4 separate regions of the Homo sapiens genome follow, and all the other regions are linked to region 2. Evidence: promoter capture Hi-C in 16 types of primary human blood cells and fetal thymus (Javierre and others, 2016). All regions are on one chromosome and are shown on one strand. Each heading gives the region's core, a stretch centred on a gene start or on the middle of the fragment in contact. The rest is flanking DNA. Distances are from core to core; before and after follow the strand shown.

Region 1 (5,711 bases), core at 2,262-4,761, 2.7 Mb before region 2:
TTAAAAATATCCTGTGTCCCAGAATTCAAGTTATGGGGAGTTGAAGCATGCTTCTAAGCAGTTACTCTTTAGACTTTACAAATCAGCTGTCTGATCCTGTAGCTGATGCTTTCCTTTGCTCACCTTGGAATCCGTGAAGTTGAACGTTTGTCAAATGCTACTTTGAAAATGCAGTGTTATTATTCTTCACAGCGATAATGACTTCAAAAGTTCCTCCAGGTTATCTCAGCATGGTCTCTCCTGCCCAGTCATCTTCAACTTTGTTTTGCCAGGGGTTCTTCTAACTGTCTTTCACAGACTTTGCCAAGTTCATTTGGTGGCTGTTGTTACACTTGCTGGCCTAGAGACCTTTGCTTTATAGTTTTGCCCTTTTAAAAATAATGGAGTCATGTTTTCCTCCCTTTAATCCCTCATGAATCTACTGAACTTTTCAAAATGTCATTGAGGGAGCCAGTGGTTAACTTTTTCCCTTCTCTAACATTCTGATGCATGTTATCAGGACCCAAAAGTTTGTCGTCTTCTCCACATTTATCATTTTAAACATTTCTATTATCCACATGTTGTATAATGGCACTTATGCCGTTTTCTGGCTCTAGTGTTCATTTCCAAAGATGGATAATAAACTTTCAACTTTAATGAGAGGCCAGTGACTCTGTGAGGAGCGGTGCAGCTGGCCCTTCTCTACTGTGGTTACATCAGTTCGGTGCTTTCTGGAGGCTTCTTTTTGCTCTCGTTCCGCTCACACTTTGGATTTAAAATTGTGAATAGAAGTGGGAGAACTTCAACTCTTTTTAATATTGTGCTGTCTATTAAATAATAGACTGAACCCACAATAAAGACTAAAAATTTCTGAATGTTACATTATTTAATGAAATCCTTTAAACAGTGTCGATGCTGCATAAAACGATCTCAACGCATGCAACTCTGCGTTGAAGCATTTTCACAGAACGGGTTCATGTTGAGCCCTGAATGAATTGCAACTTAGCTGTATCCATTTCATTCTCCTTTATTCTATTTGGTGTGTTATCAGTTTTCATCTAATGCGATCATTGATATGGTTTGTTAAGGTCTATCATATTGCTATTTACATTTTTCTGTGGAGGGTCTCATCTAATTTTTGTTTTCCAAATCGTTTTTTCCTCACAAGATTTTGGATGAATCAAATATGTTTTTCATTCTGTTTAAACATATTTTATTTTCTTTTTGTACTTTTTAAAGTGTTTGTTTCATGTATGACCCTATACATCTTTATTACTGTCTACTTAGAGTTGATATTATGCTACTTTATTTAAATAAAAAAACTTGTTCATTTTTGTTAAATTTATATCTAAGTAGTTTATTATTTTGAGTCTACTGTACATTAATATTAAAAATTTTATTTTCTTTATTTTGCTGGAATGAGAAATACAATTTCATTTTGTATATGACCTCTTAATTGAAGATACTTTAAGTTTTTCTACATAGACAATTACAATAGCAGTAAATAAAGAAAAATAAGCCAGCTTAGTGACTCAGTGTATTTTCTAATGAAGACTATAGTTCTTCAGACTGAATAGATCAGGCCAAACCTTAGTGGTCATTGTTAAGGTCACACAGCCATCGCCTGAAGGTGACCTGACAGTGGCTTCTGGTTTTACCCGAATTCCAATCCATGTTCCTTATGGATTTTTTTAGTGATGGCATAGGTAAGTGAGCTGGAAATCTGAGGCCACTATCTATGTCTCTCTTGAAGGATGAGTTTTGTTGTGAGCGCTCCTCAGTGATGGCCTGGGTACTTCTAGAGCCTATCTGAATGAATGATGTACAGAAACAGCTTTGCTGAGAGGAGGGAATTTTTTCTCCTTCATGTCCTCTGGCATCTCTTTAATCAGCCAGAACTGTAAGAAAGGTTCATCACATTTTCTTTCTTTACTGAGCCCATTAACCTACATGTTGCAAGCTGTCATGTCAAATGATTACTAGCAGATTATGGTAACAGCGACCCTGTCTTCCGGTAGTTTAGAGGAGCTTTGCTTTAGATTAAGCAGAGCAAATGGCTAATTGCTGCAACCTCTTCTTCTTGTGAGCAGATTTTATAAAGTCATCTGGGAAAGGCATGGCCTGACAATAAAGCTTGATCTCCATGGACTAGGGCCAGGAAAATGTAGAATATCTTTAGTGATATGGAGTGGCTTCTGAAATGTTGAACATTAATTCCTTTTAAATACCATACTGAGTAGAAAAAAAACTTTTTTTAAAGTTTTTCTATATAGACAATTACAATAGCAGTAAATAAAGACTGTTGGACTTCTCTCTTTCCATATGCTACTTCCTTTTCTTGAATTGCACTGGTCAGGCATCTCCAATGCAGCTTTTGTGTTGGTGTTCTGTATCTACATATAATCTGTGCAAACATTATTAACCCCATATACACTGTTATAAGTATTGCTTTAAGCAGTAATATGTCTTCTAAATAAATTATGGAAAAAAGAAAGCCTATTTGCAATCTTTTATATTTGCTGAAATATTTTCCAATTCTGGTGCTCTTTATTCCTTTATGTAGATCCATATTACCATCTTCCTGATGTCATTTATTTTAGGCCTGAAGAACTTCCTTTTAGGAATTTCCAAGTTCAGGTTTATTGGTGAATAATCTCAGTTTAAAAAAATCTGATGTGTTGTTTGCAACCTCATTTTCCAGGATATTTTCCATTAGCTATAGATTCATTTTTGTCCTTAAAACTATGTTCCATTGTCTTCTGCCCTACATCATTTATGATGAGAAGTCATCTGATACTCCTCTCATTCTTTTCTCTAAATGAAAAGTGTTGTTTCTCTGTAGGTAAACACAAGATTTTCTTTTTAACTTTGGCTTTAGCAAATTTATAGTTTAGCAATAATTATGATGGGGACAGTTGTGGTTTTCTTCTTACTTGCTTAGATTTCAATGAGTTTTTCGACTTATTGGATTATGGGTATCACTATATTGGGAGTTTTTTTTCAGCCATTGTTTCTTTGAATATTTTATTTTCTTACTCATTGTATCTTTCTTCTCTTTCTTGGGTGGCAACAGCACATATGTTAGGGTGCTTGACATTTTCCCACAGTTTACTAAGACTGTGCTTATTTTTTGTCATTGTTAATATAGCTCTGATTCTCTCTGTCCTTCAGAGTGTGTTATTACTGTTCAATCTTCAAGTTCACTTATTCTTTTTTCTGTCACTCAGTCTGTTGTTAAGCCACATGACTAAAAATCTCCTATCAGATATTGTGCTTTTCACTTTAGAGTTTCCATTTGGTTTCCTCATTCATTCATTCTCAAATATTTTCCTATAAATCCTTAAACATATTTATAATACCTGCTCTAGAGACTTTGCTCAACATCTGCATCCTTCTGGGTTTAATTTCTATTGACTTATTTTGCTTGATTTTTGGTCCTATTTTCTTGTTTCTTCCTATGCCTAGTGATTTTGGATTGTAATTTGAACACATGTGACACATTGTGGAGACTCTGGGTTTTTGTCCCCTTGAAGTGTGCTGAGCTTGTTTTAGGAGGCAGTGAGCTCCTCTGAACTCAGACTCCACCCTCTGGCTCTTCTGCAGTTGGCAGCAGCTGAAATTAACCCTCAGTTCTTCACTTTCTTGCTGCTTCATTTTGTTGGGCTCCATGGAGCATCTCCCACTGCACCTGTGTATTTAGCAGTCCACCAATGAGTTGGGCAGAATTTATGTGCATGTTTTAGTGCTTCCTCTTCAGTGGCTCCCTCTCTTTCAGGATTTTACCCTAACTTTCTTGATGCTCTTTCCAGAGCCACATGTGGATGGGAGAATGCCCTTTAGCAAAAAGCTGCAAACTCATAAACCTTTCCATTGCTTTCCCATATTTCAGGCATGGGTTACTATCTTTTACATGCCATCTTTGGATGTCTTGAAAAAATCCTCCAGTTATTGCCTGCCTTTTAAATATTTTGTCTAGGTTTGATGATTGTCTCTGTAGCCAACCCACTCGTCTTGACTACTTGCATCTGGGCCCTTCTGAAAGATTATGAAGATTAAGTTCTTCATATTCCGCTATTCTAAAGGTACAAAGGTCAGCATCATCATAAACATTGCCATCATTTACTGTTTAATTAAACTTGAGGAAATTGTGCAATGTGCCTATGTTTAATATACAGATGAGTTGCAGCAATAATAATATTCTGTACATCACTCACTGATGCAGGCTGTGTAGTGGACCTGCAAAGATGCCCACATCTAAGTCCCAGAACCCATGAATATGTTATCTTACATGGTAAAAGAGCTTTTCCAGATGGGACTCAGTTTAGGATCTTGAGATAAGGGATGCTGCTGCACTTTCTGGAGGGGACCAATGTAGTCTGAGGGTCCCTCTAAGAGGATGCAGAAGGTCAGTATGAGGAGAAGGCTAGGTGACAGCAGAAGCAGAGAGAGGCCGAGTCAGAAAGAGAAGGTGCTCCTTCTGGCTTTGGCAATGGAGGAAGAGACCATGAGCCAGGCAGTGCGGGTAGCCTCTGGAAGCTGGAAAAGACACAGAAGTGGATTCCCTCCTGGAGCCTCTGGAAAGAATGCAGCTGTGCTGATACTTTGCTTTTAGTGTAGGAAACCCACTTCAGACTTCTGATCTCCCAAACTGTAAGATAATACATTGTATTGTTTGAAGCTAATAATTTTGTGGTATTTGGTTATGGCAGTGATAGAAAACTGATACAGTCACCAAAATTATTTTATCAGTGGCATTTTATAACCTTCATTTCTAAAAATGGCATATATCTAATCATTTGTACATATCCCTAAAGCAACTTATCACCTATGTATTTTTATTATTTCTAATTTTGTATTCAGATCAGTTTCTTATTAAAGATTATCCCATTGTGAATTTCTAGAGTGATTGAAGATGAGGTCAGCTGTCTTGAGAAGCTTTACTGGAGGACAGAGGAAGCTTCCTTAGATGTTATCTTTGGCTTTCTTGGAAAACCCTCAGAGCACTCGCCTGCCTGCTCTAGAGTTGCTGGTAGTGCATTTTCAATTATCTCTTAAGGGGCTTATAATTCAATCTTATTTGACAACCTAAGTGGAAGCTTATACATCACTTAATATTTATATCTTATGTTTTTTCTCCTTATGTTTCCCCTTATACTATAAACTGTTTGTAACAAAGCCAGCATTATAATTTTATTTTTATTTTTAGTGCCTAATTCGCAGAGAGGACTATTTGCACTCCACAAGTTTCCTGTGTGCAGGTGGCATCATGTGACTCTCCCGGCTGCTGGGACATGAGAGCACAGAATGTGTCCCCTTCAGGCCACAGTGGGGTGTCTGTGCACCTGGCACACATGTGGTGGCTTAGAGACCATGAATGGCCATGTTGGCAATGGAGGGAGCCTGGATTCCTCACACTGTTTGGAGCAGAGCCTGTGAGGAACATCTATACCAGACTTCGTATAGCAAGAGAAAACTTTAATTTTGTTATTCATTTTGACATTTTCAGACAGCTGTTAGAGCAGCTGTTTTATCTTTCTCATGGATACATTTATCAATAGGAATATGCAATCATCAGATTAGATCAGAAAGACTAGTTTTTGAGAGTTGCTGCAATAGCTTAGCCCTGAATTGTGGAGCATCTCCTGTATGCTGGGCACTCTAGCATACACCCTTTAAGTCCCCCTGCCATTCCTACGTTTGCACAGGAGTCCAGGCCTCAATAAGATGAAGGA
Region 2 (5,685 bases), core at 2,034-4,533:
GGACACGGCCAGTACATTTGAGTGATGACAGCTGGTCTCCCTGAAGGCCAGGACATGGCCCGCTCCTTCACATGGAGCCAGGATGGTCAACATGGGCCATCACCTGTGCCACATCTCCCTAGCTGGGTTCACAAGTACCTCTATATGGAAATTGCCTTTTATATTATTAAAAGTCTGTACCCCTCAAGTTTACACAGGAGGAGAAACTCCTACGCTGAACCACTCGGATGCTAGTTCTCCAACATCAACCCTCTCCTCAGTGTGTCCTGGGCCACAGGAGCAGCATGTCTGCCCCTTTTGTACTTTGGTCTCATGTGAGCACACATTATATTTTGACCTCAGTTTGACAGCTCAGAAGGCTTTTTTTTCTTCCATTTCCTAGTTCTTCCACATTTTGCTCCAGAAGAATCTCTGAATTGCCTGTGGTTCCTGGACACACCACCCTGGTTCAAGCCCCTGCACCTTTGCCCAGGCTATTTCTTCTGTCTGGAGGATGTTACCTGCTTTCATCACCTGACCAACTCCTATCTGTACTTAAAATACAATCCAGGTATCACCCTTGACCATGCACTCCACCCGACAAAGCCCCACAGAGGCCAGATTCAGTGCCCTTCCTGTGTTCCGCCAGAGCACTGAGGATCCGCGCCCACACATCATGCTGCTTCATATTGAAGGTCTTATTCATCTCTGCATCCCAGGGCCTGCCTAGCACAGGGCCTGCCACACAGTAGGGGCACACATAAGGCTCCATATAAAGTTTGGTTTTGCAGGAAGTATTTCTGTTTCTGCAACTAATCAGTTAGTGTCATTGCCTATAACTAAAAGGTAATATTATCTTACCCGTGGCATCCAGTCCTTCGATGGCAACAACCTGGAACTTTCCTTTCTGGATCTGTTTTGGGCACTGGTCGACCAGGTCAAGCACTGCCCGGGCTTCAGGAATAAAGGAGGTACACTGTAAAACAACGTCTATCCATCAGCAATGAAGCCAGGGGGCTTTTGCAGAAATCACACCTAAATTGCTGAGCACAATATTGCCGCATGCTAATAAGGCCTAAGTTATACTGAGCACTGTGCCAGGCCATGGGAATTCAGAGTATTTCGATGCTAGGATGGACTGGAGTGTTTTATTTTATATTGAGCAGCCGAGGCTCGAAACAGCTGTCCCTGTCTGGATCGCTTGGTGGCCTGCAGCCTTCACTGAGCAGCTTTGAGAAAGGCCAGGCAAGGCACATCATCACAATGTCCTGTGACACCGCAACCATGGAACTACAGGCCCGCTGGGAACACTGTCTCACAAGAATGGGAAATCAGCTGCACAGTGGGCTGGAGAGAGCAGTCTTCATCTGCAGCATGTCCTCTCCTAGCCATTCAGGGGGCTGAGATAAACAGCCAAGCACTGCAATCATGAAGCTGGCAGAGCAGCGTCCCCCTGGGAATTCCCAGTTCCTCAATGTGCATTATCTCACTGCACGCTCACAGCATCTCAGAGCGAGGCTCAGACACTTATGTGCTTGCTCTGAGCATGGCAATCTTCTAAGTGCTTTACAAGTATTCAGTTGCCAATCTCTGTGAACTGGGGTGGGGGGGTGCTATTATTATTCCCACCATATGAATTAAGGAAACTGAGGCAGAGAGTTGAAGAAACTTGCTCAAAGTGACACAGCTAATAAATGCCAGAGTTTAAATTTAAATACACGTGGTTGACCTTGCGCTCTTAACTGCTCCACAACGCTGTCCCGTAAGCTTGGAAAATATTCCCAAGATCCATGGGGGCATCCTCAGGGCTCATCTGTGTCACAGGAGGACATCTGCCTAGCCTGCGATCAGAAAGAATTTTCAGTCTCTTTCTGTGGGTACCTGCTGTGAGTCAGATGTTTCCTTAATCAGGACAACATCGCAAGATGGGAATTGTACATGTCAAAGGGCAAAACTTAGAGTAGTTGAGTAACCTGCACAAGGTTCATGGCCAGTCGGTAGGTAAACACTATTTAAGTCTAAATTTCTTAAACCCCCTAAACTCATGCATTTTCTTTTTCACCCCAAGATCCTTGAATGGTGATCATCAGCAAATAAAATTACTTCCCAGCTGACATTATTTTCCCTCACTCCCGGCAGCCCCTTTACTCCCTCTGTACTGCTGTTGGGATGCTTTTACAGCAAGCATCGCGTGGCTTGGTGTAGGTCTATGTTCCACGTCAGGTTGGAAGATCCTTGCAAACAAGAATCTTAAAAGAGTTGCCTGGCATACAGGACACCTTCCCTACCTGATTTGTGAACGGAAATAAACAAACCACCCAGGCAAGAACCGGCTCTACAGACCAGCCTCTTGGTCCAGTTCTCTGGTCTGAAGGGTTCAGATGCCACGCTGGGAGCTGGAAGCGGACAGAACTCTTACCTCCTCCAAAACGGCCCGGGCGGCTTCCCGGTCCGGGAAGACCACGGAACTGGGCAAGTCTGGCACCACCGGGTGCAGCGGGGGCTCCGGGACGGGCACGACCTGTGCGCAGCCCACCTGCAGCCGCCTGCCGTCTTGCACCTCCCAGAGGCGCTGCCACAGCTGGCCGCGCGGGTCGGCCTCGAACTCGCCCAAGTGCGGGCGTGGTGCCTCCTGACAGGCGCCCAGCAGCTCGAGCAGCGCTTGCCGGGTGTCAGGGTCATCCAGGGGGTCGCGCAGCAGGAAGCCTTGCTGTGCGCCGCCGGCCTGGCCGCCCGGGCAGTAGCAGAGCAGCCTGAGCAGCTGGCACCGCTGGAAGGGGCCGCGGCGCAGCTGGTGCAGCAGGCGCTGGTGCAGCCGCGCCGCCCGGACCCGGGCCCCGCAGCCGGCGTCCGGGGTCACGGGCACGCACAGCGAGTAGCTGCGCTCCGGGGGCCCCAGCAGCGCCGCCAGGCGGGGGTCGGGGGCGTCTGCGTCGCCGGGGGCGTCGGCGCCTAGGGCGAAGTGAGCCAGGGTGCAGTCGGGAAGCTCCAGGACGAAGCGGCGCGGCGGAGCCATGGCCCCAGCGCAGACCCCGCGCCGCCCGAGCAGCGGCCCCGACAGTGGCCCGCGCAGGAGCCGGCGGGCGAAGGCCATGGGCGCCTCAGCGACGCCGCCCTCGGCCCCGCCTCGGAAACGAAACCTGGCGGGAGCCAGGCGCCGGCGGGAAACGAAACCCGGAGGGAGCCAGGCGCCAGCGGGAAACGAAAGCGAAGCGTTGCGGGGAAACGAAAGCCGGAGGCCCAGGCGGGGCAGGAGCCCTGGGGCTGGGGCGCCCTTCCGGCCTCTCCTCCTCGCCGCGAGATGTGCGCGATAAACGGCCGGCGCTCGGGAGCAGACGCTTGGCCCCGGGGCCCCAGGTGCGCGGCTCCGCGGGCCTGCGCGGTCCCCAGGCGCCGGCTCCCGGGGCTGACACCGAATGAGGCCCCGCGCCGTCGGCCCCAAGGTAGCTCCGTGTGCGTTCTGCGGGTGGCTGGCGGCCCCGACCCTGGTTTGAGTTCCTCCTCTGCGGCTTATGCCGGGTGCATGGAGGGGGGCGGGGGTGCACGCGCGAGGGACAGAGAAGTCCCTTCCCGGTGTAACGGGCTCTTCAACGCCCACTTGCAGGCGCACTACTGCCCTTGGATGACTGACCAGGCCCTGCAGACCATGGGCTCCCTCCCCGACCTCAACTCCTAGCTCTGACCACGCGTCCCCGCCCCTCTAATCCTGCAGAGCTGCTTTCCTGCGGGAACAGGGCGCAGTTCTGGCTCTTCCCTCTCCTGTATCTTATCTCACCTGTGCACTCACTCACCTGTGCACACACTCACCTTTGCACACACTCACCTGTGCACAAGCTTTTCCCTCTTCTTGGAATTGCCCTCTCCCTTTTGCTGACTCTCCAACTGGGAAGTGTCGCCCAGATTGGCACCTCGAAATCGCCTTTCTTCCACCAAATTGAAGTTTCCTGCACTAAGGTGAAGTGTGTCAGGATAGCACCCTCTGCCTGCCACAGTCCAGCATCAGCACTGTTGCTGCCTAACAGTGTAACTGCCTAACAGTGTAACAGTGTTTGCGCAGTTATTTGGATATTTTATTCTGTGTTTACTCATTAACTGATGCCTTTTAAAAATGATGTCAAGCAAACCAAAAACAAACAAAAAGATAATATTCTCCAGGGAAACTCTCTCAAAAAAATAGAATTGAGACGAAGATTGAAAACATTAGATGAGCTGAAAGCAGTTTTTTTTTTATGTCTTAATAGTATTGGACTTAAACTTGGGATTATATTTAATTCTGAAAAAAAAAGTCTTAACAAACGTGAAATATAGATAGGTGGTTGGAGTGTGGGTTAATAGGCTAAGAAGAAAGAAGAATTAGGAGTTTAAAATTTTTTAGCTCTTTGAGAATAGAATAGTTTTTATTCTTTCTCAGGAATTTCACTTTTGGACATTTAGCATGTACCGGTGGTTTCACGTGTATGTAGTATATGGAAGTAAGAGTCTTCTAGTTACTCCCTTTTCTTCTCTAAGACAGTACTGCATCCTCAAGCCTGCTTGACCTTTTCCCTATGCCATCCACCTCTCTGGATGTATTAGTCTATCCTGGCTGCCATAACAAAATACCACGGACTGGGCCGCCTAAACAATAGAAAATTTGTTTTCTCAAAGTTCAGGTGGCCAGAGAAGCTGGAGATCAAGTTGCCAGCAGGGTTTGCTTTTTCTGAGGCCTCTCTTTCTAGCGTGCAGACCGCCTCCTTCTCTCTGTGTTCTCACGGGACCTTTCCTTTGTGCTTGCATCCTTGGCGTCTCCTTGAAGTTCCAAATTTCCTCTTCTGGGAAGGACACCAGTCAGATTGGGTTAGGGCCCATCATAATGTTCTCATTTTAATGTAATCACCTATTGAAAGCCTTATTTTGAAATACAGTCATACTGTGAGGCACTGGGGGCTAGGCCTGAGCATGAATTTTGGGGGACATGATATAGCCTATAACCCCCCACATATCTGGGTTAGTAGCCTCTCCTGTGTCCCCCACCAAGGCTATTTGTATCCTCGGACCTTGACACTCCACAGTCACGTGCCAGTCTATTTCCCACCACTGAGCACCTTGAGGGTAAGTAGGAAGACCAGCTTCTTCCTAACTTTTCTCTGAGCCTCCAACTGAAAGAAAACCTGACACACAGTTTGCTAAATGAAGCATCTTACCTTTTTTAATTTAAGTTTTCCTCTCTATTTTTCACCTACCTTCGCCCTACGAAGAGATGTAAAGTTAATAACACTGCAGTATTTGGGCTTAGTCAATATTATATAAGTGTTGAAGATGTTGAAGATATATCTTCATTCATAAATAAAAATTTCTGTTAGATTTTCAAGCCCCTTCAAATTTGTAGGACAGAGACTCTGAGAGCCACAGCTGGATGTTTATATTGACTAAACATGCCTGTAGCCACCCATCGTTGCAGGTGGAAAGGAGAGAAGCTGCAGGCTGGGAAGATACTTCAAAGAGGTGTCTTTAAATGAATGAACAGCACAGCTATATCATAGGAAAAGCCATAATCTTCAACACTTACAGTATTAAACAAGAGAAAATGAAACTTTTCTAGCCATTCTGCTCCTAAGAAAAAAAGAAACAGAATGGGAGAATTAAAAATATAAATAGCAATTAATAAATAATAAAATGAAAAAATAACACTTTGAAAAAGAGCTTAGTTTTTGAAAACATGTTTAA
Region 3 (5,066 bases), core at 524-3,023, 2.1 Mb after region 2:
TGTACTTATATGAAGAGCTCAGAACAGTGCTTGGTGCATGATAAAACTTAAGAAAGATTATATTAGAGTTCTCCAGAGAAACACAACCAATAGGAGATAGATATGGTTTTGCTTCTCTGGAGAACTCTAGATAGAATAGATAGATAGATAGATAGATAGATAGATAGATAGATAGATAATAAATAGATATGGAAATAGATAGACAGAAGTTTATTATGAGAGATTGGGTTGAGATTATGAAGGCTGAGAAGTCCCACGATCATCTGCCATCTGTAAGCTAAAGGCCGAGGAAAGCCAGTAGTGTAGGTCCAGTCCAAGCCCAAAGGCCTGAGAAACACAGGAGCCAACAGTGTAGTTCAGTTTATGTCCAAAAGCCTGAGAACCAGGAGCAATGATATCCGAGGGCAGGAGATGATGGATGTCCCTGTTCAGAGTGAATTCACCCTTCCTCCACCTTTTTGTTCTATTTGGGCCCTCAGCAGATGTGATGACGCCGGGGTACGTGGGTGAGAAAATCTTTACTCAATGTACCAATTCGAATGCTGATCTCTGCAGGAAACATGCTCAAATACACATTGAGAAATAATGTTTCAATAGCTCTATCTGGGCACCTTTTAGCCCAGTCAAGCTGACACATAATATTAATCCAAGAAATTTAGTATAATTCTGAAAATGGAAACCATTTGTTTCGTATTAAATATACTACCTCTTCATGTTTTTAATGAAGAATTGAAGCTGGCATTTTAAGCTGATAACTCATTGATGGTAGCATAAACTGTGTGCAGGCCATACAATTAGCCTGACCAGTATCTGCTAATTATACCAGAAGCTCTTCAGTGGAGACAAAAGAGAAAAGAATTAAACTAATTGTATATAATGCCTCACTGCCCTACCTTGGGTAACATCCATCCTATAAAGAGCAATTCTTGTGTTAAAACATTTATTGACCACTTACTATGTTCAAGGAGCTATGTGGGGTGACGTAAAGGATAAATGATGCCTGTAATCAAAAGAAGAAAACAGTCGTATTCACAAATTCACATGTTACAAGAAAAGTATCAAGGAAGTTTCTTTTTTTAATGTTAAAATCAAAGGAATATGTCTGTAAGAAAGAAGCTTAGCTTGAAGTTAAAAGACCTGAATTTTAACCCTAACTTTTCCACCAGATAGCTATGAACTTTAGAAATTGGCTTAGCTTCTCTGTGCCTTAAGTTTCCCATTGTTAAATATGAATAATGGTAACTGTTCATCCTACCTCATAGGAGTGTTGTGACTATGAGCATGAACTTAATCATAGACTCAATTATTTTTAAAGTTACTAGTACTGTTAGTCTGAGAAATAATAACTAGTAGTAAAGGGATTTCAATATAGCAGCCACATTGTTAACAAGAGTTACTTAGACAAAGGCACAGGAGCACCAGGCAGCATCCACGTGTGGTAAGATGGCAGTGCGGCAGTGCTCTTGTCCTGGGTTCATTGCCCTCGCCTCCTAAAATCGCTGTGATCATTAAAGATTGCTAAAATGAGATGTTTCCTTCCCAACTTATTTTTAACATTGAAGAAACCACTGGGAAGAAATGAATAATCTGCCAAGCTGCTTTTGTTTTGTAAAAATAGTATGTGCCATGAAATTCCATCTCTCAGGCAATTATTTTGCCTATTCTATGTTCCTATACCCTGGAATAATTTTGATGGATGAAGAACATTGAACCATACACATAATAACAACCCAAGTTAACTAGAGGGGCATCTTTAAGCACTTGCAAGCTAACCTTAGCCTGAGACTAGAAAATGGAACGAGAATGTCACCCTTTAAGACCTAACATAGTTCAATTAGGAAATCACAAAGTAGGCTGAACAAGAGGTAGCAAACACAGTAGGAGAAGTCCTGGCTCCACTGTATTCTGGCTCCACCACGGACGTGGACTGTACCAGCAAACAAATCACTCATCTTCAATTTCATTGGGAACATGTTAAGAGATTTGTTAAATAAATGATTTCAATTGTCACCTCTTCCTCTAAAATTAAATGATTCCCAAGAATTTTTGGGACTTTCTCTGTCTCTGTGAGACCACAGTCTAGGTTTAAATTAGGCTAAAAGATGCAAATGAAACTATTACTCATCAGTTTGGGAATAGCACTGCTTTCTAATTATTCCACAGGTTCCAGGACTACCTCAAATGTATTACGTCTCTAATCAGTCTTTCTCCTTAAAAATGCCTATTATTTCTTGGTGGACTGCAAAGATTTCTGTTTTATATCTGCGCATCTTGGGAAACATTTTATTTTCCTCATAGATTTATTTGGCATTTTTATCTTTATATGATTGAGTCAAATCTCAATACAAAGAACACCCCTTTCATGCTTATTTATTACAACATGAGCATGCAGCCTCCAACCCCTGATTCCTAGGTACAGAAAAATAAAGTTCAAGCTTTTTCATGCTTTTGCATATCTGCATAATAGTTTTTGTGTCCAAATTATGAAACACCTTAAATATAAATTGCTGTAGCCTCCCCAGGGTTCATCATAATCACCGTCACCACTAGCAGCATTTATTGCATCTGCTGGGGTCACTGCACTGGGGAAGAAGGCCTCATTTTCTCAGTTCGCCTAATATTCCAGGTTCTTTCTGTTTATCTATAATTGTAAGAAGAGTTGCCCTTCTGATACATGTTGACATATCACTGTTCTGCTAAACAGTGTAGTCTGGCTACTAGGGGAGGAGTTACACCCACCCTCTTCTGCTGCCAGCTCTGTGACAAAGAGAAAGCTGTAAGTTATTCTCCAGCCTGCTGAAGAGTTTTGTGTAGTCCCCAGCAGCCTATCACTTTCAGCAGAATTCCCTCTTTAGAAGTAAATGTGTCAAACTGCATATTTTGTTATGGGTATTTTATGCCTAAACCCTTCCTCCCTTATTGTCATTTTATAGATGCTGGGTTTTGGTCCACAGATTACAATACCAGTGTCCTAACTAATGTCAGAGTTCTAGCCAGTGAAAAATTAGAAATGAGAGTCATCTCTTCCCATCATGTCTGGGGTTACCACATCTAACCTGGTTCTCTTGCCAAAGAACTTGCTCTCCAGGATGGATGACTCTGGATAAACATGAGTTACCTGCTAAGGAATGGCCTTATAATCAGATGATAGTCTGGTTTCAAGCTCATCAAATTATCTTTTAATTTATTTTCCATTTGAAATCAAATAGTTATTCCCTCTTATTTACATTCTCATCTAGGCCTAAAATACTGTTTATCACAAGACAGTTGTTATTAAAACCACAAAACATTAAGTTTAAAGGTAAACCTATCATGAAAGAGATATTGTTCCCAAGGAAGCTTAAACCAATTTATTATTAAATTTACAAATAATGGGTTGCCACTTCCAAAGTGAAGATGTAGATCAGGTGGAAATAACACGAAAGGAGGGTCCTTTATTAGATACTTCATCTGAAGTTTTGTCCTTAACTTTGTTGAGGCATCGGGTGGGGAGGGTTACATTAATAGAAAGCAATAGATAAAGAAGTTGGGCACTGGAATGAGAAATGAGACTGCCTTAAGTTCGAGGCCTTCTTATTTGATTTGGGGAAAGTTACTTAACCTCCTTGGGCCTCAATCTTGTCATCTATAAAAAGGGAGTAATAATGATTTGTTGTGGTGTTCAAATAATACACTTAATGCTTGTCACATTGTAAGTGCTCAATAAATATTAGCCATCATCACCTTCATCAGCAGCAGCAGCACCTTCATCATCATCATCATCACCATTATGTCTTACAGCATATGGTTACATTTATCATCATAGGTACCATATGCTAGATAGAAGGGTAGATTAAAAACAAGTTGTTACATGAGCACAGGGAGGGGAACAACACACACTGGAGCCTGTCGGGGGTTGGGGGATGGGTAGGGGGAGCATCAGGATAAATAGCTAATGCCTGCTGGCCTTAATACCTAGGCGATGGGTTGATAGGTGCAGCAAACCACCATGGCACACATTTAGCTATGTAACAAACCTGCATGTCCTGCACATGTATCCCAGAACTTAAAACAAAATCTAACAAACAAACAAACAAAACATAAGTTGTTGCTTTAGTCAGCTTATTCCTCCAGATTGAGGGGGAAAAAACACTGAGGGCTAAAATATAGGGTATAAAGAGTACGTTAAGTGATTTAATAAATTCCTGGCCTACCTCACCTGAAAGCATTAACAGAGTTTTGCACTTAACGGAAATAAATTGGGCGACAACTAGTTTTGAACATTTTCTTCTTAAATGCTGGAATATACTGTGGTTAGATATTTTGCTTTTAACTGTTAGTATCTATTCTGAACCTTTACAACCTACACAGTAGGAAAGGGATTTTAAAAGGACAAACAGTAACTCATATAAAGATTTCATGGATAAGAACTAAGCAATTGAATGCATAATTTATAGTTTGGAGTACCATATTACTTTGTGGCACATTTAAAATTGTTACTCTGATTGATTATTTTGAAAATTCCAGGCACCATTAGATTTCATCCCTCTGCACAGTATTTCTCTAAATACCATCTCTGAATCCACAAATATTTATCTTTTTTTGGTTAGCATCCAGCTGGTAACCAGTAAAATGATCCTACATTATTCTAGGACAGGAGCCAGGAACTTGGTCTTATTGCATAAAGCTACTCTATTCCTCTTTGTGTGAAATATATTCCACTACTGGTCCCTAGATACTTATTTAAGAGAGCACTTAAAATCGCTCCCTTTGGAGTTGCCTGAGTGTCATTGAGAAATAAATCAAAAGACAAAATCAACTCAAGTATGTCTGATACAACTCAACAAGGCAGTGTATCTCAGTGGGGTCCCAAGATCTTCTTTATTAGAATCACTCAGTATGCTTATTTAAAATCCAGATTTCTGGGCAAGTCAACACATAAAGAATCAGAATTTTCTATGTCAGAGCCTTAGAATCTGCATTTTATTAGTGTTCATGGGTAATTCCTAAGTACCCACTGAAGTTTAAGAACTATTGCCCTGGGCCCTTAATATATCGTATTCTATTAAGAACTTCATTATAATTAA
Region 4 (5,738 bases), core at 2,115-4,614, 2.6 Mb after region 2:
TCAGCTCAGGCCCTAGTAGAATAAGGAAGGTGTAAAGCTGGAGAAGAGAAAGTGCAGAGGTGTTAGGGACAAAAACTCAGCCCTCGACTGTCCATAAGGAGAGTGGCCTTTCAGTGGACACGATCCTCATCAGTCGGGAATGCTGCTGAAGGGGAGATGCAAATGTAGAGAACTTGAATTCCTACAGATGAGCATTTCGAACCCACAACATGTTTATTGTTAGATACTAGTTGGCACAACATGAATATACGCTTTCCAAAAGGTAGAAAGTATCTCCTTTACACAATCATTCAGTAAGGCTTCATTGAGCACCTGCTTGGGACATAGTCCGTTTCCTTCTGCTTAGTTCACACCTGTCATGTCTTCCTGTGATGAGCAAACACTGAGCAAGTGTCAAGCACCACACATGGGGATATAGACGCAACAGAGGGCCCAGTTAATTGCTCTCGCTCTTTTGGAGAGAATTACAGTGCACAGTGGGAAATATTGGAGAGATACTTTGGAATAATAGGAGACTATTACTTTGAAGTCAGACCTGAAGTCCATTATCTACTTGACCAATTAGTAGGACAACAATCTCACTGAACCCGTTTTCTCATATGGAAATAAGATAAAACTTGAAGAGTGAACATCGCGGTAGGTGCTTTGTAAATAATAGCTAATCTAAGAACGCAGGCAGGCATTGCACTGAGCACTGTGAAAGTATGGAAAAGGGATTTCTGACAGATTGAGGAAAAAAGGATACCTCGTGGATCCTGAAAAATGTGATGCCTGAGCTGAGTCCTAAAGAATGAGTAGGAGTTAAAGACTGGGGGGCCCAGGATGTTCTAGGCAGTGGAAGTGGCACATATGAAAGTGAGAGTGGTCACAGCTTGTGGCCAGATTCCTCATGGCTGTAGCTAAAGAGTTGAGTTAGCAGATGAAGCGACAGGCAGTTGAGGTCCAGTTTAGGAAGCACCTCGTATACACAGGAGTTTGGACCTTTATCAAGTCAATTACAGGGAGCCAGCGAAGGCTATTAAGCAAGCATGGATATTGTGGGAATTATGTTTTAGGAAAATCTCTCCTGGCAGCAGTGTAGCAGATGAATAAAAGCATGGATGAATAAAAGCATGGATTGAGTAGAGCAGATTCAGTGAGATATTGAAAGATTCTAAGTCTAGCTGACGAGAGCCTGTAGTGAGTGATGTGAGTGTGAGAGAGTATGCAAATGAGATCTTCAGGATTTTGTGGCTGATCAGCTGTATCTGGAAGGGTGGTTGTGGGGAGGGAAGGCAGGGCAGAGAGGATGTTATGATCAGATTCCTAAGTTTGGCAGTTGGGAAAGGGTAGTGTTATTCACTCAAGGAGTATAAGAGATGGGGCAACTCTGGAGTAAATTTGGGAATTTGGTTGTTTCGTAACAGCTTTATTGAGATACAGTTTACATACCATACAACTCACAATTTACATACCATACAACTCATTTAAAGAGTATAATTCAGTCGTTCTTAACATAGAGTTATACAACCATCACCTCTCTCTAATTCCAGCACATTTTCATCACTCCCAAGAGATACCTTGTATTCATTAGCAGTCATAGACAATCCCCACTACCTCTCCAGCCCTAAGCAACCACTAATCTACTTCTTTATAGATTTGCCTGTTCTGGACATTTCATGTAAGTGTGATCATACAATACATACTCTTTTGTCTCTGGCATCTTTCATTTAGCATAATCTTTCCAAGGTTCAAAATTGAGGAGTTTTGTTCATTCAATAAGTATTTTTTGTGATGTGCTACATGCCAGGTACTGTAGCAATACAGCAGTGAATAAGATGGACAATGCCTCTGTTCTTAGGAAGCTTTCATTTAGTAGCCTGAAAGAAGACATAAGTAGGTACAATAACTTCATGTAGTTGTATTAAGATAACTGATGCTGGGTTGTGGCTTGCTGTGAAGGGCAAATTAGAGGAGGTAGTCAAGGGAAAGCATCTGAGAAGGTGACGTTGGAACTGAGACCCAAATGATACAAAGGAGCCAACCACATCAATATCTGAAGACAAAGCATTTCAGGAAGAAAGTAGAGCAAGTACGGGGCATGTGGTGGAAACTAGTTTGGCATCTTGAATATGAAGTCCCGGGAGAGATCCTAGTAGAGATACCTAGTGTCACGTGTATGTATTAAAGGTCTAGAATTCAGAAGAACAATCTGGGTTACAAATACAGGCTTGGAAGTCCTTAGCATGTCAGAAAGATGAGAATGAAGATTGAGAAGTTGGCCAAGGAGCAAACCCTCGGAATATCAACATTTAAAGGGTAGGCAGAGGTGGCTGAATATGTGAAGGAAACAGGAAAGCCAGCAAGACAAGATGAGAGCATCAGGTCAGAGAAGCCAAGGGAGAGGTGCTTGAGGAAGGAGCAGGTACTCCTTAGGAGTGACAACGGCTGCCAAGAGAACAAGATAGGGACTGACACCTATAGTTCCAGCTACTTGGGAGGCTGAGGCGGGAGGATCACTTGAGCCCAGGAGTTGAAGGCCAGACTGGGCAACATAGGGGGACCTTGTCTCAAAAAAAAAAAAAAGACTGAAATGACTACTGAGCAGCAAGGACAGTTTCAGAAAAGTGATTGGTAAAAGCCAGAGTATAGCGAATTGAGGAGCGAGTAGAAGGTGAGGAAGTACAAGAGGGTCCACTGCCCTGGGAGGTGGTCTGGGGAAAGAATAAAGTGGGAACTAAAGGAGCTTAGAGTCAAGGGATTTTAATTTGGGGATGAACATGGCTGTAGTATGTTTAAATTTGGATTGGATGGTAAAGAGCAGACAGTGAGGAAAATGTCAATGACACAGCAGTGTTGAGTTCCTCAGAAGGAGGGAGGGAGTACGTAGAGTAGAATGGTGGAAAGTTTCATTGTGGAAAGAGAGGTCTATTCTATCTATAGAGGAGAAATAGAAGGAGACAGATGTGGGCAGGTTGGTACCCTGTTGGTACATGTATTCTTAATTATTGTACCAACATGAAGTTGAGGAAATTTACAAATGGACTGTTTATTTTTTTGATGCAGAAGATGGCCCATGCCTCAAGTGAAGAAGAGGATAGAAGGTTGGAAAATTTGGGAAAGGGAAGAAAGTTTGAAAATAGTTGATATGGAAATGAAATGGAGAAAACAGCCAGGCAACATTGAGGGCCAGTTAAAGTGGAAGGCCAGGGTATCCACAATAATTACAAATAAAAAATGTTTAAAAAGTGGAAGGCCAGGAATTTATGGCGGCTCTCATCCACAGTTGTTTGATCTTCTGTATCAACACCTGTTTGGAGGTAGGATCTCAGTTTGGGGATAGATCCATTGCATGTCCATCTGACTGAGTTCCTTGAGGTCAGGGTCCCTGTAAGGCATTTCCATGTCCTAGGCACTTAATCCAGTGCTTGGCAAATAGAAGCTGCTTAATGTTGAGTGAGTGAGTGGATTGTGAGCTAGAATGGTTGGGAAAAGGCATCAAAGAAGGTGAGGGATTTGAAAGATGAGGTTTAACTTAAAGTGTGCCTTGTGACCATTGCAAATTATGGCTGAAATTATTAAGAAGAAACAAAAATTATGTAAGTAGTTGGTATAAAATATGCTGAAATAACAGAAAGTAGAAGAAAAAGTGATTGAAATTCACAGTATGAATAAGTATTTTAAAAAAAAAAATTTTTTTTTTTTTTTTTTGAGGCAGAGTCTCGCTCTGTTGCCCAGGCTGGAGCGCAGTGGCGCGATCTCAGCTCACTGCAAGCTCCGCCTCCTGGGTTCACACCATTCTCCTGCCTCAGCCTCCCGAGTAGCTGGGACTACAGGTGTCCGCCACCACGCCTGGCTAATTTTTTGTATTTTTAGTAGAGACGGGGTTTCACCGTGTTAGCCAGGATGGGTCTCGATATCCTGATCTCGTGATCTGCCTGCCTCGGCCTCCCAAAGTGCTGGGATTACAGGCGTGAGCCACCGCACCCGGCCATTTAAATTTAAGCCATTTGGCAAATACACATTATGATCTTAAAGAAGATGACAGTGTTGAAATGCTTATGGCTTTCTACTTAAGTGCTAATTCTAGAAGTATTATTATATAATCTGCGTAACTGCTAGTTTACATTTTAAATACATTATAATTTAATCCTAAAATTCAGAAAATTGAATTTAAATCAAGCCCAAACCTTTGGGCTTCTTGGATCTGTACCGCCTTCTCTCTTAATTTTAAGAACTGCAAGATCCCTGGACTCCCAAGGATCAGTTTTCATCTGTTCTCATGTGGACACTGTTCTTCCCTGTCTTTGTGATTTTGTAGAACTCTCTTACGTCTCAGAATTTTTCAGTGAGGTGCTGTCATCAGATGGCATGTAGTGTACATTGTAAAAAAGTGTAAGTTTATTGGACTTGGTTTTGATTTTTTTTAATCCTTCTTTTTCTCCCCTTGAATATTTACAGTGGAGCTGGGCAAGAAGTAGGAAGATCATGTATTATTCTCGAGTTCAAAGGAAGAAAAATAATGGTAATTACTATTTTTGTACTCAGTTTAATAGTATGGCTCTGTCTGTATTGGGTGTTAGTCTTTTCTCATAGACTAGTTATCTTTTTAGCTCCCAGAAAAATGTTATAGTACATGTAATCTATGCTGTATAGTGTTAATGAGAAAAACTAATACACACTTCTACTTAGTAATTTAGTTGATTAAGAAGATATATTCTATGACTGTAAAATTGTCAGCTAGATCTGTTGAACTGTTACCTCTTCAAAGTCCCTCTTCCACTCCTGAAGGGTTGAGCCAGCCTAACTGCCCCACCCCCAGTGGAAGATCCCAAGGGCCCAAGCACTCTGAACACACTGAGAGCTCTAGCCGCCTCCAGCATGTGGGGATCAAGCCTTGGCCTAGAAGCTTGGATCCCCAGGTCCCACTGGGGCTGCCGGCCTTGGCCAAGTCACTTTGCTTCTCTAAGCCTGAAAGGTAGAGGGGTTAGAGGAGATAGTTTCTAAGGTACTCATTAGAAAGTCAGTTCTGTGTCTCAGATTCCTTTGATTCCTCTTTCTTCTCAACTCCTCCCAATCTGAAAAGAACATGTATAGGTCAGACATAGTCATCCTTTTAGTCATCTGTTTTGTTAATTTGGTAGTAACGCCATAAAAATAAGTAACTTTAATGACTGAGTCTTAAGAATTTGTTCCCTAATGCCTTAAAATATTTAAATTACCCTGATCAGGTAAGTTTCCCATTTCTAATTATTATCTTCTCACGAGAGTCGATCTGGTAGTAGTAAATCTATAAACTTTTAAAATTTTAATCTGATATCAAAGTTTTTGAAAAAGATTTAATTCGTTGTTAGAATGACGACCAAAAGTAGCTGGAAAGAAGCTGTTTTGTACTTTGCATCCTGTGACCCCTAAATGTGAGCTATATTTTAAATTTGTTGGGAAGTTAGAATTGTTAATGGCATATTTGCCACATTTAATAAGAATCATGTTCCAAGTGCTAGTGCCTGGAGTCCATCTTGAGTATATGGGTGATGGAACTAGAATTATTGCCTATTTGCCGAATGAATTTTAATAAAATGTGCAGGAGATTGTGATCTCTTTTCCTGTTTCTTTCAGCTCGACTGTGGGATCCACCCTGGCCTAGAAGGAATGGATGCTCTTCCTTATATTGATTTAATTGACCCAGCTGAGATTGATCTCCTATTAATTAGTCAGTAAGTTTTTCCCTTTATTAATGACACTTTTTCACGGACTTT

What was found. Contacts are between HindIII fragments. The CHiCAGO score rates a contact against its expected background, and 5 or more counts as called.
Region 1: a contact is called between a fragment that was not itself captured here and the fragment with the promoter of CMPK2 in region 2, in 2 of 17 cell types (M0 macrophages and M1 macrophages). The highest score is 5.1, in M0 macrophages.
Region 3: a contact is called between a fragment that was not itself captured here and the fragment with the promoter of CMPK2 in region 2, in 2 of 17 cell types (fetal thymus and monocytes). The highest score is 7.3, in fetal thymus.
Region 4: a contact is called between a fragment that was not itself captured here and the fragment with the promoter of CMPK2 in region 2, in 1 of 17 cell types (total CD8 T cells). The highest score is 6.6, in total CD8 T cells.

Annotation. Positions count from the first base shown.
Region 1 is chr2:4,128,081-4,133,791 of GRCh38, forward strand. No RefSeq gene overlaps it. Among named protein-coding and RNA genes, the nearest start is that of LINC01304, 160 kb to the left of the region's middle. The HindIII fragment of the contact is 2,802 bases long and covers 2,111-4,912 here.
Region 2 is chr2:6,862,624-6,868,308 of GRCh38, forward strand. CMPK2 (cytidine/uridine monophosphate kinase 2) reads right to left here and starts at 3,284. Exons shown (of 5, transcript NM_207315.4): 1 at 2,399-3,284; 2 at 841-955. The coding sequence starts at 3,073. It also overlaps a transcript of RSAD2 not described here. RefSeq lists silencers at 2,595-3,034, 3,275-3,544 and an enhancer at 3,055-3,274. The HindIII fragment of the contact is 2,067 bases long and covers 1,745-3,811 here.
Region 3 is chr2:9,006,411-9,011,476 of GRCh38, forward strand. LOC124907728 (a long non-coding RNA gene) reads left to right here. Exons shown (of 2, transcript XR_007086199.1): 2 at 1-2,453. Among named protein-coding and RNA genes, the nearest start is that of MBOAT2, 5.3 kb to the left of the region's middle. The HindIII fragment of the contact is 1,319 bases long and covers 1,115-2,433 here.
Region 4 is chr2:9,424,325-9,430,062 of GRCh38, forward strand. It overlaps CPSF3 (cleavage and polyadenylation specific factor 3), which reads left to right. Exons shown (of 18, transcript NM_016207.4): 2 at 4,441-4,504; 3 at 5,599-5,696. Among named protein-coding and RNA genes, the nearest start is that of CPSF3, 3.5 kb to the left of the region's middle. The HindIII fragment of the contact is 3,044 bases long and covers 1,843-4,886 here.